2 separate regions of the Homo sapiens genome follow, and region 2 is linked to region 1. Evidence: promoter capture Hi-C in human tissues and cell types (Jung and others, 2019). All regions are on one chromosome and are shown on one strand. Each heading gives the region's core, a stretch centred on a gene start or on the middle of the fragment in contact. The rest is flanking DNA. Distances are from core to core; before and after follow the strand shown. Region 1 holds the start of SLIT2 (slit guidance ligand 2). Region 2 overlaps LOC105374514 (a long non-coding RNA gene).

The links. Contacts are between HindIII fragments. The study calls those that stand out against the background at their distance.
Region 2: a fragment that was not itself captured here is called in contact with the fragment with the promoter of SLIT2 in region 1 in 1 of the 25 tissues and cell types used here (stomach).

The regions. Positions count from the first base shown.
Region 1 is chr4:20,247,632-20,253,535 of GRCh38, reverse strand. SLIT2 (slit guidance ligand 2) reads right to left here and starts at 1,631. Exons shown (of 37, transcript NM_004787.4): 1 at 1-1,631. RefSeq lists an enhancer at 1-515. The HindIII fragment of the contact is 10,378 bases long and covers 1-5,677 here.
Region 2 is chr4:20,207,020-20,212,923 of GRCh38, reverse strand. It overlaps LOC105374514 (a long non-coding RNA gene), which reads left to right. Exons shown (of 3, transcript XR_925450.2): 1 at 1-137; 2 at 5,663-5,715. Among named protein-coding and RNA genes, the nearest start is that of SLIT2, 42 kb to the left of the region's middle. The HindIII fragment of the contact is 4,639 bases long and covers 746-5,384 here.

The sequences.
Region 1 (5,904 bases), core at 382-2,881:
GAGCAGCGGAGAGGAGATCACGCGTCTTCTGTCTCCCAAGGATGAACTTGGCGGTAAAAGAGCTGGGGCTTCCAACGGCTGCTAAGATGCAGGGGCCGGTTGTTGTGGGGAGGGCGGTCCTCTGATCCCACGCACGCTTCTGCAAATCCGATGCCAGTGGCGAAGGTACAAGACAGAAGAGGGGATCTCAATAGGTATTATGGCCCCGATCAAAGTGGGCTCCGGAAGCTAGAAGGCGCGGAAGCCCAGCGGGCCCGTAGCAGAGCGCGCGGGGCAACTGGGCATGGCGCGCGGGGGTGCACGGGGCGGACGCGCAGTTCTGGGGGCGCACGGCTCTGGACTCTGCTCACTCACGCGGCCTCTCCCTCGCCCTCGACTCCGCCGCAGCCTGGACCGGTCCTCGCGGTCTCCCGACAGCCAACGATGGTTTACAAACACACATGCACTTCGCTGAAGGATGTCTGGGCAATCCCGCCTCCCGCTCGGCGTCCTTGGCGACGCTCTGCACCAGGACCTGCCCCGAGGTCACGCAGAAAAGACAAAAGGGCAGTCGGGCCGCCGCAGCCGGGCAGAAATATCCACTAGTCAGCACTCCGGCGAGGAACTCCAAGAGGCCAAGTGGAGGATGAGAGCTGCTGCGAAGACTGAGTGGGGACTGACTGGGGGCGGACTTAAAAACCAGGCAGACCGGAAGGAGTGGAAAGGCAAAGGCCAAGGTTGGAGGTGTCAGCGTCCTGCTGGGGCGTACTGGAGAATGGCTCGGTGGCAGGTGGGCGGGTGGGATCCACTACTCCAGGCAGAGCCAGGCGGCAGCTGAATGGCAGTAGTGTGTGCGCGCGTGTCAACCCCGCTCGTCTCCCAGATAAGCCGCAGCTCCGCGGCAGACACCTGATGGCAAAGGTAGAAGAAACAAGAGCCGGGTTCCGGAGGGCGCAGAGCCACGGCCGGCCCCCGGCGGTCTCCCACTAGTGGTTCGTCCTTCTCAAAGTGCAGCAACTTTTCCCAGGCTTTGAATTCCGTCCCCCAAGGCCACAGTGGCGGTACCCCTGCCGGCGTGGCGACGCCGCCCGGCTCCTGGCGCTGCACCTGACGCGGCGGCCGCAGTCCCGGGTAGTCCTTCTCCTTCTAGCCCCTTCCCCTCTCCCGCTGCTTTCCTGGCCTCCCGCTCCAGGGAGCGAGGTCGGGGAGAGGGAGGGCGACGACTCAGAGCGGGGACTCGGTGGCTCTGCCGACTCCGGAGCCCCTGGCAAGTGTCTAAACAATAGGACGGACGCAGCAGCCCAAGTCTCGCTTGTCTGGAAGGAAGGTGGGTTGTTGTCGTAACTGGAGTTGTTCGCTGGGGCTGACTGGCGCTCAGCGTAGCCAAACAAAAACCCGGCCCGCGCCTCCGGAGCCGGCTGCGGGCCCCCGGCGCTCCCCTTTCTGCTCAGCACTCCCGCCGTGCCCAGAAAGCGCGGCAGCTTCGGCCTGCGCCTGGGCGCTTCGGCGCTCCCATGCCTCGCAGCTGCCTCCGCCTCCGCCGCCGCCGCCGCCGCCGCCTTCTTTTTTTTAACCACAGTCTGCGGCAGCCACCACCACCGCCGCCGCCAAGCTCCGCCGTCCGGGCGCTTCCCAAATAAATAACACCAAGTCCGAAGTTGAGCCGGCGCGGGCCTTATATAGCCGCCCGAGCCTCCGCCCCCTGACCCCGCCCCTCGAGGCCCAGGCCCGCCCCCTGGCTCCGCTCTGGGAGCCCGCACCTCGCTGGGGAGAGGGGAGAGGTGAGGCCGGGGCTGCCAGCGCTGGGCGGAGGCGGCGGCTGGCGGCGCGCGTTCCCGTGCGCCCTGGCTCGCCCCCTCGCTCCCACGCGCGGGCAAACTTGGCCCGAAGAAGGAGCCACCCGAGCCCCAGCCCCCAACTCCTTGGCCCCAGAGGTGACCTGGGCTCGGAGATAGTCGTTTGCAGTGGGAGAATGGGAAGAGGTCGGCTTTGAACGCGGCTCATAAATAAACAGCCCTGCCAGTGCCTCTCCTGCAGCTTTTGCCACGCGATCCTTAAGGGGGCTGCTCACTCTTTGCAGCGCAGCAAGAGACAGAGAGACAGAAACAGAGAAATTATGATTTAAATTTAAGAAAAATCCTACCGAAATAGATCTGCCTGCGCTTACAGACACACACGTGTATTTTGGGGAGCTGAAAAGTTCAGTTTTTGCAAGTTGGAAAACAGCATTTTCCAACCTTCTTGCTTGCCTTTCTATCTCCAAGCCACCCCCTTCCGTTTAACCCTTCCTTTGTAGACACACACTGAACCACACCGTGGTCAGTTGATGTCTTGGATATTCAATAGGCTCACAAAACTCTTAAGGGCTTGAACGTATCTGTGTGATTTTTTACTCTCTTATGAGAGAAAGGAGGGGAAAAAATAAATCCCTAGCAACGCACATTATACCAGAAGGTTTTCTTTATTTCAGGGCAGTTCTGGATATTTTTTTCCCCGCTATGTTTTGAAAGAGAATTTCCTTGTTTCATCTTGTCTCTTTAGTGTGACGTATGTCTGGCAACGGCTGCCTCTCTCGCCCCCCTTTCCCCCCCAGCAAGAGCCAATGTCACTGTAAGTTTGAAATGACATCTAAATGACTCTGCTCCTTCTCTTGGATTTAATATGCATCATATTGTTGTTCTTCCTCCCATTTCCACGTTAAGAAGCTTTCCCTGGAATTTGTGCAAGCCCCCGCCTAATACCAGCCTCATATTGTAGTAGTTATTTGTATAATTATTAGAAGCTTCCTTGAAAGCAAGACCTGTCCAACTCTTTGTATTTCCAGCATCTATGCCTGCCACATAATAGGTTTCCTCATAAGTAACCGATTTCTTTAACTCAAGAGTATGCTCAACCTAAAATCTCTGCAATATCCTCATTAACGTTTTTCCTGGTTAACATTTTCTAAGATGTCCTTTCATAATGGCTACCCCTACTTACCTCATTTTGCCTGCCTTGGAAAACGTAAGCCTTTTCGAGGACACGCCCAAAGGCAGGGTACCATCTGATAACTGAATTGGAACTCTTAGGATTACTCATTTTAATGCCACAGATTTATATTGCTCTATTCTTTTAAAACCTTCAAAAACATTTGACATTTATTAACTCATTTGTCCTTCTAGATTTTAGCTTAAAGGTCTGTTATGTAACTTCCTTGAGGAGGAGAAAAAAGAAGCCCTTGTCACATTTTCTTGTAAGGAAAATGAGATAAAGAACAAGTACCTGTCATTGAGGAAGGAGCTCCCCCAACCCTCAGTGAATTTTCCTTAGTGTGTACCAGTAAATTATGTGGTTAAATATGGTTGCTGATACATTAATTTATTTAATTTCACAACTTTAATATCTTGTCAGCAACAAGAGGTGTTTGTGTTCAACTTTGTGCACCACATAGAATTGTTGTTCCATATTTTAATTCCAAGAACATATCCTGCATTCCAAATATTTATAAATAATATTATTGATATTGTTGCATAAGTGAAATTCACAGACATAAGTTCAAGTTTCATTCTATCTCTGATCACTTTCTGTTTTGTGTAAAACCAAGGAGAAACTAACATACATAGCAACATGCCTACAGAAACATCTTTTTAAAATTTGAAGCCAATTTAAATAAGAAGCTATGTTCAGTGGATTTCATTCAGAAAAAAGAAAGACTGTAATTAATTCTTGAGAGGCATATCTTACTATTTTTTGCGTTATTAACTTTTTAGTTGATAAGGGGAATTTTATACATACATAAACAACCAGGTCTCCTGTCCTTTAACATATTACTGTATTATTCCATTAGTATTACTGCAGGATGTTTGTTGAAGGCCTTGCAGGCTTCAGAAACATTAACTTCTAGGTCTTAATTCTTTATGGATTATTTTGCTCCCATATGAATTTCTGAGTTTCTCTTTCACTGTTAAACCCAGCCTGAAGAAAGCCTTCTGTGGTGCCTCTTGTCACCACATGAGGTCTCCATAAATCCTGACCTGGATTAAGCAGAAGTGGAATCCACTATAGCCAATATCCGAGTCTCCTATTATCTTGCAAAAAAAAAAAAAAAATCCAGTTCGTACAATAATTTGGAAACAATGTAGACAATCACCTATGCAGCAAAGAAATAAAAAGCATCAGAATAATGTGTAGGTTATTAAATGTCTAATAAACTTTGCATTTTTTTGAAATAAAAAGGTTGTGAAGTTGGGTTATATGGGAAAAGGGAGGAAGAAAAGAGAATTTACGAAAAAGAGATAAAGAAGAGTAAAAATTATTGTTCTCTGTCTTTTTAAACAGAGGTAGGTAACAGTAATTGCATTGATCAAATTCATGAAACTTAATTCCTTGAATTTAACTGCCTTCATGTTACTATTTTCCATTGTTGCAATGTGTTCATTTTAATTATTTGATATTTCTTTCATTTAAATTATCTGATATTTCTCACAATATCTTTGTATTGGAAACGTAGACATGGAACCCTAATATAATGGAAATTAAGATTTAACCAAAATTTGTTTCAAGCCTACTAAATTCCAAGCTATTTGACAGAGTTACATCCACAGTGATGGTTGCTATTTCACTCCTTACAGTAGAGGATGTTGGTCTTCATGCAAGTCGCAGCTTATTAAATGGCAGAGCTAGAACCAGAACCTAAGTTCTCTGACCTCAATTCTCAATTGATTCTTCTTCACCCAACTGTTTATCTGTAGATCCACTGGAACTCGTGGGGATCAAGGAATCTATAGATCCTCAGGAATGATCACCCTCATACAGGAGATGGTCATGTCTCTGCACACACTCCTTAAGGGCATCTACAGGGAGCAGTAAAGAGCTAGAGTCCTCAGCACCAGCACTTCAAGGATACTGAAACCTGACCTGCTTCTGGACATAGCTTTGACTTTGAGATGATTCTCTAGGTGAGTGGTTCTCAGCATGTGGTCCCTGGACCAACAGCATCGTAATCGCCAGGACTGTAGTTGGAGATACAACTTCTCAGGCCCTAACTCAAACCCACAAAATCAGAAAATCTGGGAACAGAAGCCAGAAGGCTGTGTTCTCACAAGCCCTCCAAGAGATTTTGATGTTCACTAAAATTTGAGATCCATTACTCAAGAGCTGCTCTGTGTTTGTATCTGTGACACATTGGTACGGAGAATGAAGCAGCAAAGAATAATAGATAACAGCTGCTGAATTGTCTTCAGCTTCTCATTCCTGGGGGTTGACAATTGCACATTACTGATTACCTCTAGGGGGCACCAAAATATTTTGATGTACAGCTCCGCAGAGGCAATAAGACTTTAGTTTTATTTTCCAAGGAAATGGCCTTCAGAAGTGGAAAGGGCTTCCTAGTTATTACATCAGCAACCTGCCCGAATATGCCTCAACCCTTTAAAAAAATCTGTTATATTTATAGGGATTTTTTCCAGTTTAATACCACTTTTGTATGGATGCATTGATTCCTATTTCTCATGATTATTGTGAAAATTAAGATATTATTTTTCAATCTAACAGCACAGGGCCTGGCATAGAGCTAGGTGCTTATTAAATAAAGGGTATTTCATTATTACTTTTAATATCTGAAATTTTCTAAAATATTATATTTGTATTATGAGAATAGATAACATATTCCTTTAGTTATTACTATGATCCAATAACTTCTTGTATTGAGTCCTGGGAAGGGCTGGGCTGAGGGTGATACTTTACAAGAAGAACAAATCAACTTACAATAATCAAGCCCTGCTCAGACCTACAGTATCCCATGAACAAAAGAGTGGCGATAGATATAATTAGTTTTGTGCTATGTGTGTCACATAATATAAACTAATCTTTGAAGAGGTAAAGTTGGTTTCCCGCTGCCAGAATAACTGCTTGTTGATTATGCAGTGAAATTAAAGGGAGAAGTTC
Region 2 (5,904 bases), core at 1,816-4,315, 42 kb after region 1:
AATCCAGCTATTTCTGTGCCTTACTGCTGATTTCTATCGTCACTTTACTTTTTTTTTTTTTTTTTGTCTGTAACTTTGTTCTGACCAGAAGGCATCTGTGGAGTCTCTGAATGTGCTGTGATTCTGATTCACGAATGGTTTGTAGCTCAATTAAACTCCTTTAAATTTAATTCGTCTGAAGTTTTTCTTTTACCATAGAGAATCCAGTGAATTTGTTAAAAAGTCTTTTGATAGAGCAGAAGTAAAGACAAACATGAAAAAATTTATCAAGGAAGAACAAGGAGGCAAAGAGAATGACTACATGAAAAAGAGCATAAAGAGATTTCAAAACAAGAAGACTGATCAGATTTTCAGAAGGTGAAAATAAGCAGAATACTAAGAAAACTGTAGTTATTAATTTTACCATAAATCAAATGTTATACATACATTTACTATGGCCCAGGTAGGGTTACTATTAGGTGAGTATTATTATTATTATTATTATTATTATTATTGTTATATTGTTTGATAGATAGGGAAACTGAAGAATCAACTAAATAACTTTCCTAGAATCCTACAGTTGGTAAGTTGCTGAATCAAGATTAAAAGCTAGGGAGTCTAGCAGTGAAGTGTGTACTTTTATGTATTTATTCTATCTTTCAAAAAAATTTTAAAATATTTAATTGATTTTTAATTTTAAAATGTTTGGTTGACAAATAACAGTCAGTACTTTCTTAGACGGATAAACAAAAGGAAATCTATAACCCAATTTATCACGGCGAAACTATTAAACACCAAAGACAGATATAGAATTCTGACAGAAGAGCGGGAAGAACTAATATTGTTAAAATGTTGAGGAAAAGCAACTACTTACCAAAAGCTATATAGCCAAAAAAAAAATTTAAGAAAAATGACAGAAGAACAGAGATTTCAGACAAAACTGAATTTCAAAAGAAATGGATGCATTTTAGATAGAAGGAGAATGATTCTAAAAGGAAGGCATGATTTTTAAAAAGTTGGTAAACAAAGGAAATGGTAAACATGTTACAATGATATCTATGGTGAAGGCATTAGAACAACACAAGATGGGAAATTTTTGACTGTGCATGTGCACATTTGCGCGTGTGTGTGTGTGTGTGAGAGAGAGAGAGAGAGAGAGAGAGAGATTGGAGTTTAGATGTCCTCTAATTTCCCCAAGTTGTTTAGAAGGTGGGTATATACATTGATTTACTTTAGTCTTAAGTGAAGCATGCAATTAAAAAATGAGTAACCACTTAAAGAACAGAATGCAGTATATAATTCCAAACTACAAAAGGAGAAAAAATGGGGGGAAAAATAAAAAAATGTAAAAGAAGACAAGAGAGGAGCAAAAGGAGCACAGCAAACCTGGGACAAAGCAGAAAATAAGATGGTAAAAATACATTCATATATATCAGTGATCAGAAAAAGAAAGAAAAAAGATTACTCTTGCCAAAGGTGGAATAATTTTATTAAACTTTATTAAACTGTCAACAGAATGATTAGCTTTATTGATCTTCTTTGATATATCTTATACAATCTGCTGTTTACCGCATATACATCTTTAACCATACGAGTAAGAATAGCCATAAGAGAAATGATACAAACTAATATATTAGACTTATGTTAAATTAGATAAAACTGGTGTGCCTTAGCTAATGATAAAGGATCAAGGGCCATAAACATACAATAATTCTAAACATACATAGATTGAGTATCATAGCTTAAAAATTTACTGCAGCAAGATTTCTACATCTACAAGAAGAAACAGATAATATATCGACGTATTTGGATATTTGAGCATACTGCTTTTAGCATGGGATAGATCAAGTAAATAATCTCAAAAAAAAGTGATAGATAGGCTTGATCTAAAGCACATATATAGGATAAAATAGAGAACTTTGACTCAACACACTTATTCTTTCCCAACTCACATGAACATTTATAAATCTGACCCATGTCATAAAGCGTAGGCCATAGAGCAAGTCTTAAACATTTTCAGATAACTGGTATCATTTGGACCACATTCTCTGTCCATAATGTAATTGATTTAGGAATCACAAATATTAAACGCCTACATATTTTGAAATAAAAAACTCACTCCTAAGACAAAGGCATAAATAGGCATTTTACAGAAAGTAGGAATCATCAATAAACATATGAAAGATTCTTGACATCATTAGATGTATGAAAAGTAAATGAAGTTCTCAATGATACTTTTTAGTTCTAACAGATGGGCCTATTTTAAAAAGTCTGAAAATACCAGACTTTACTTTAGAGGGAAGTAAATGTGTTCATAGTCCCAGCAGGTGGGAGTGTACATTAGTACAAACACTTTAGAAAACAATTAGCATGATATAGTAAGGTTGAGGATATTCAAACCTTTCAAATCTGCAGTTGCATTCCTGGGTATACATCCTTCAGAATTTCTTACATCTGTCACTGGGAGACTTGAACAAGAAATTTTCCAACCACATCATTTGTAATATGAGAAAAGCTGGAAATTATCTATCTGTCCATCTAGATATACTTATTATGTATTGTAAAATACATAGTCATTTTTTATTCTATTGGGGTGGTTGACTTTTTATTGATTTGAAAGTTTTTTCTATAAATAATGTATTGAAGGTGGCCCTTGCCCAGTTTGTTCATCATTTCTTTCTTTGTTTATGTCTTTCATATAGAGGTTTTAAATATTTTATACATTGACATTTTATATTACAACATTTATCTAAACGTTTAAAGTGACTTTTGTCATTTGTACTATGTTCAGATCTTTCTCAGTCTCCAGGACTTTATTACTATTGATCTATATTTTCTTCCTATGTTTTTGCCCTGCCTCCCTCCCTGCCTGCCTGTCTCCCTCTCCCCTTTTCTTGTTTCCTTTTTTCTTTTCTTTTTTTTTAAACAAAGCTTTCTATAGAATGCATTTTGCATAAAGGGTAAAACAGATTCTATTCTCTTCTTTCTTTTTTCTAGAAAACAATACATTCCATTCTAATGTATGTTTTTCCCCTGGCACCAAACTATTTACAGCAGTTCTAAACATTTTTGATATTTAGCTATATAAGGTGTTTCGAATAACTGGAAGGAAAAGGTCCCTTAAATAATCCAGTTTTTGTCAAAATTTTTCTTCTTATTTTCATGTTATCTTTACAAATGACTTCTTGAAATGGTTTTGCAAATTAAAGATATATTCTTGAAACTTTTATTTGGGATGACTATTTGAATAGGGGAGCTATTGATATTTGTATTATATTGATCTTTGCTAGGAAATAATACACTATTCTTTTTTATTTATTTAAACTGTTTTTCATATGTTTTCAGTGAGATTTGTAGACATTTTTTCCAATGATATCTCATATTCTCATTAGATTTATCTACACTTTTTAAAATTTTGTCTGCTATTATAAATAGATAATTTTTCACCATATTTTCTAATATTAGTCTTTAAGAAATCTGTTTTTCTTATTTTTGAACTCCCAATTTATCATCACTTTGAACATTCTTACTATTTCTAATATGTTTGCTGTTGGTTTTCTAATAATTATATCATCAGCAAATTATTGAATTTATGTCCTATCTATTCTAATACTTAACTTAAAAAAAAGGCTAACAAAGTAGTGATTGAACCAGCTACTTCTTTGGTAGAAATGTTACGTTGGGGAGAAAAGGCATCCTGATATTTTTTCTTCCCACTCATGGTAACAATTACAATATTTCATCAAGTGTGTTATTGCCTCTAGGTTTAAGCTAGCCTATTATGTTTAAGAATTATTTTTCCCCTACTAGGAAATCATATTAGTTTGTTTGGGCTGCTATAGCAAAATACCTTAGACTAGGGAGTTTATAAACAATTGAAATTTATTGCTCACAATTCTGGAGATTGGGAAGTCCAAGATAAATGTGCAGGCAAAGTAGGTATATGGTGGGGGCCATCTCTGCTTTATAGACAGAGTCTCTTGTTGCATGCTCCCATGGTGAAAAGGAAAGATTGAACCCTTCAACATTTTTATAAGGGCCGTAATCTCATTCATGAAGGTGGAACTCTCATGGCTTAATACTTTTGAAAAAACTCTGTCTGTTCATACTGTCACACTGGGTATTAGGTCCCAACTAATGAATTTTAGGGGAGGGATACCAAAATTCAGACCATAGAAGAAATGATATTGAATGCTATCATCTATTAAAATGACCAAATCTTTTCTCCTTTGACTTGTTAATATGGTGATGTCTCTGTCTCTCTCTCTCTCTCTATCAATTAATCATCTATCATGCATCTATCTATTCATCCATCCATTTTCTGATATTAATCATCATTGTAATCCTGGCATAAAGCATGTTATTCATGGCATAGTATTCTTTTATATATTATTTTATATGCAATTTGCTAGGTTTTTGTTTAGAGATTTTTCATCTATCTTACCAAATAAACTTTTAAAATCATTTTCTTTTTTGTTCTACAGTTTTTCAGATTAGGTTTCATTGCTTCAATAGCTTTGTAAAAAGAATTGGTAAACTTCCTTTCCTTATTTGGGTTCTGAAACTGTTTACATATTAAACAAATAGAAATTTTAAGTTGTGAAGAAACTAGCTGTCCCAGGATATACAGTTAAAATATTTGTTTTATTTGTTTACAACTTGCTTAATTTTCTTGATGGTATAATAGATCTTTTGGTAGCCAACCAGTATCTTTTCCTTCCCTTATAGCCATCCCTTCACTACGTAGAGAATTCTGAGTTGATTATGATGTCCTCAGAGTTAAAACAATGTCCTCAGAGTTAAAAAAAAAAAAAAATTGCACTTCCCTTTTAGCCAGGGTAGCCATGTAAAATAGCTTTGATTGGTGATATGGAAGTGGATGGGTGGAGCTTCGTAGAAAACTATTATTTCCTTAATAAAAAATTAAACTCATTTGGCAGTTATTTGTAGTCCTGGGCCCTCTGCCTTTTCTGCCTAGTATATAGGCAGGGTACTCATGTTGCAGCAGCTCTACTATGAGCATGTGGATAAAAGCCATCTCCCTAAAGAGGAAAGAAACACATACCTGAGTTTCATTGCCCATCTCACGACTCCTTACAGTGTGAGAAATATAAACCCCTATTAGGTTAAGTCATGGCAGTCAGGTTTCTGATACATGCAACTGAATATAATTTCTAATCATAAGTAATTAATTTATGCAGGTTTTCTACCCTTTCTTGAGTCAATTTTAGTAGCATTTTCCAAGATGTCGTACATTTCAGATATATGAGAATATTTCAAATATAGATTTAGCTTAAATGTTTTATTATTTTATTTTACTAAAAATCTGTAGTTAACCTTGTGTTTTCATTCTCAAGTTTTTATTTTTGTGCTCTTATTTTTCTTTTTATGCTTCTCTCTTGCTGTGAACTCTTATTTTCAACGAAGGAGATTTTGAATTTATGTTATTAATTTTTTCATGCTGTTTTCTTTTCCCAGTCACTTTTTTCCCCCAATTTTCAGTTGAATACTTAGTTAACTGAATTTAATTTTTAGGAATAGAGTGTAAGAATTTAGCTTAATGTATTTTCCTGAGTTTGTGTTCACTGTCAATCCTTTCCCATTTTGTACCATTAACTTTATTTTCTAAAGATTTTAGTAAATGTAATTTTGATTACTTCTTTTATTATGTTTTGTTTTACAGTTTTCAACATTGTTGTGTTGTCTACAATTTTGTGATTCTTATATTGCCTCAAGGTAAGACAGTGTAAATAATTCAATTCCTAATTTGAAGCATGAATGTAACTTTTTTGTGGCTTATATGTTTTCTTTATCTTATGGATACTTAAAAAATCTTCTCTTTATTGAAGGTTGTTTATTTTAAGTTCTATATTTTGAATTAATCTTATTAATTATATTATTTAAATACTTTTTATCCCCTTCTTA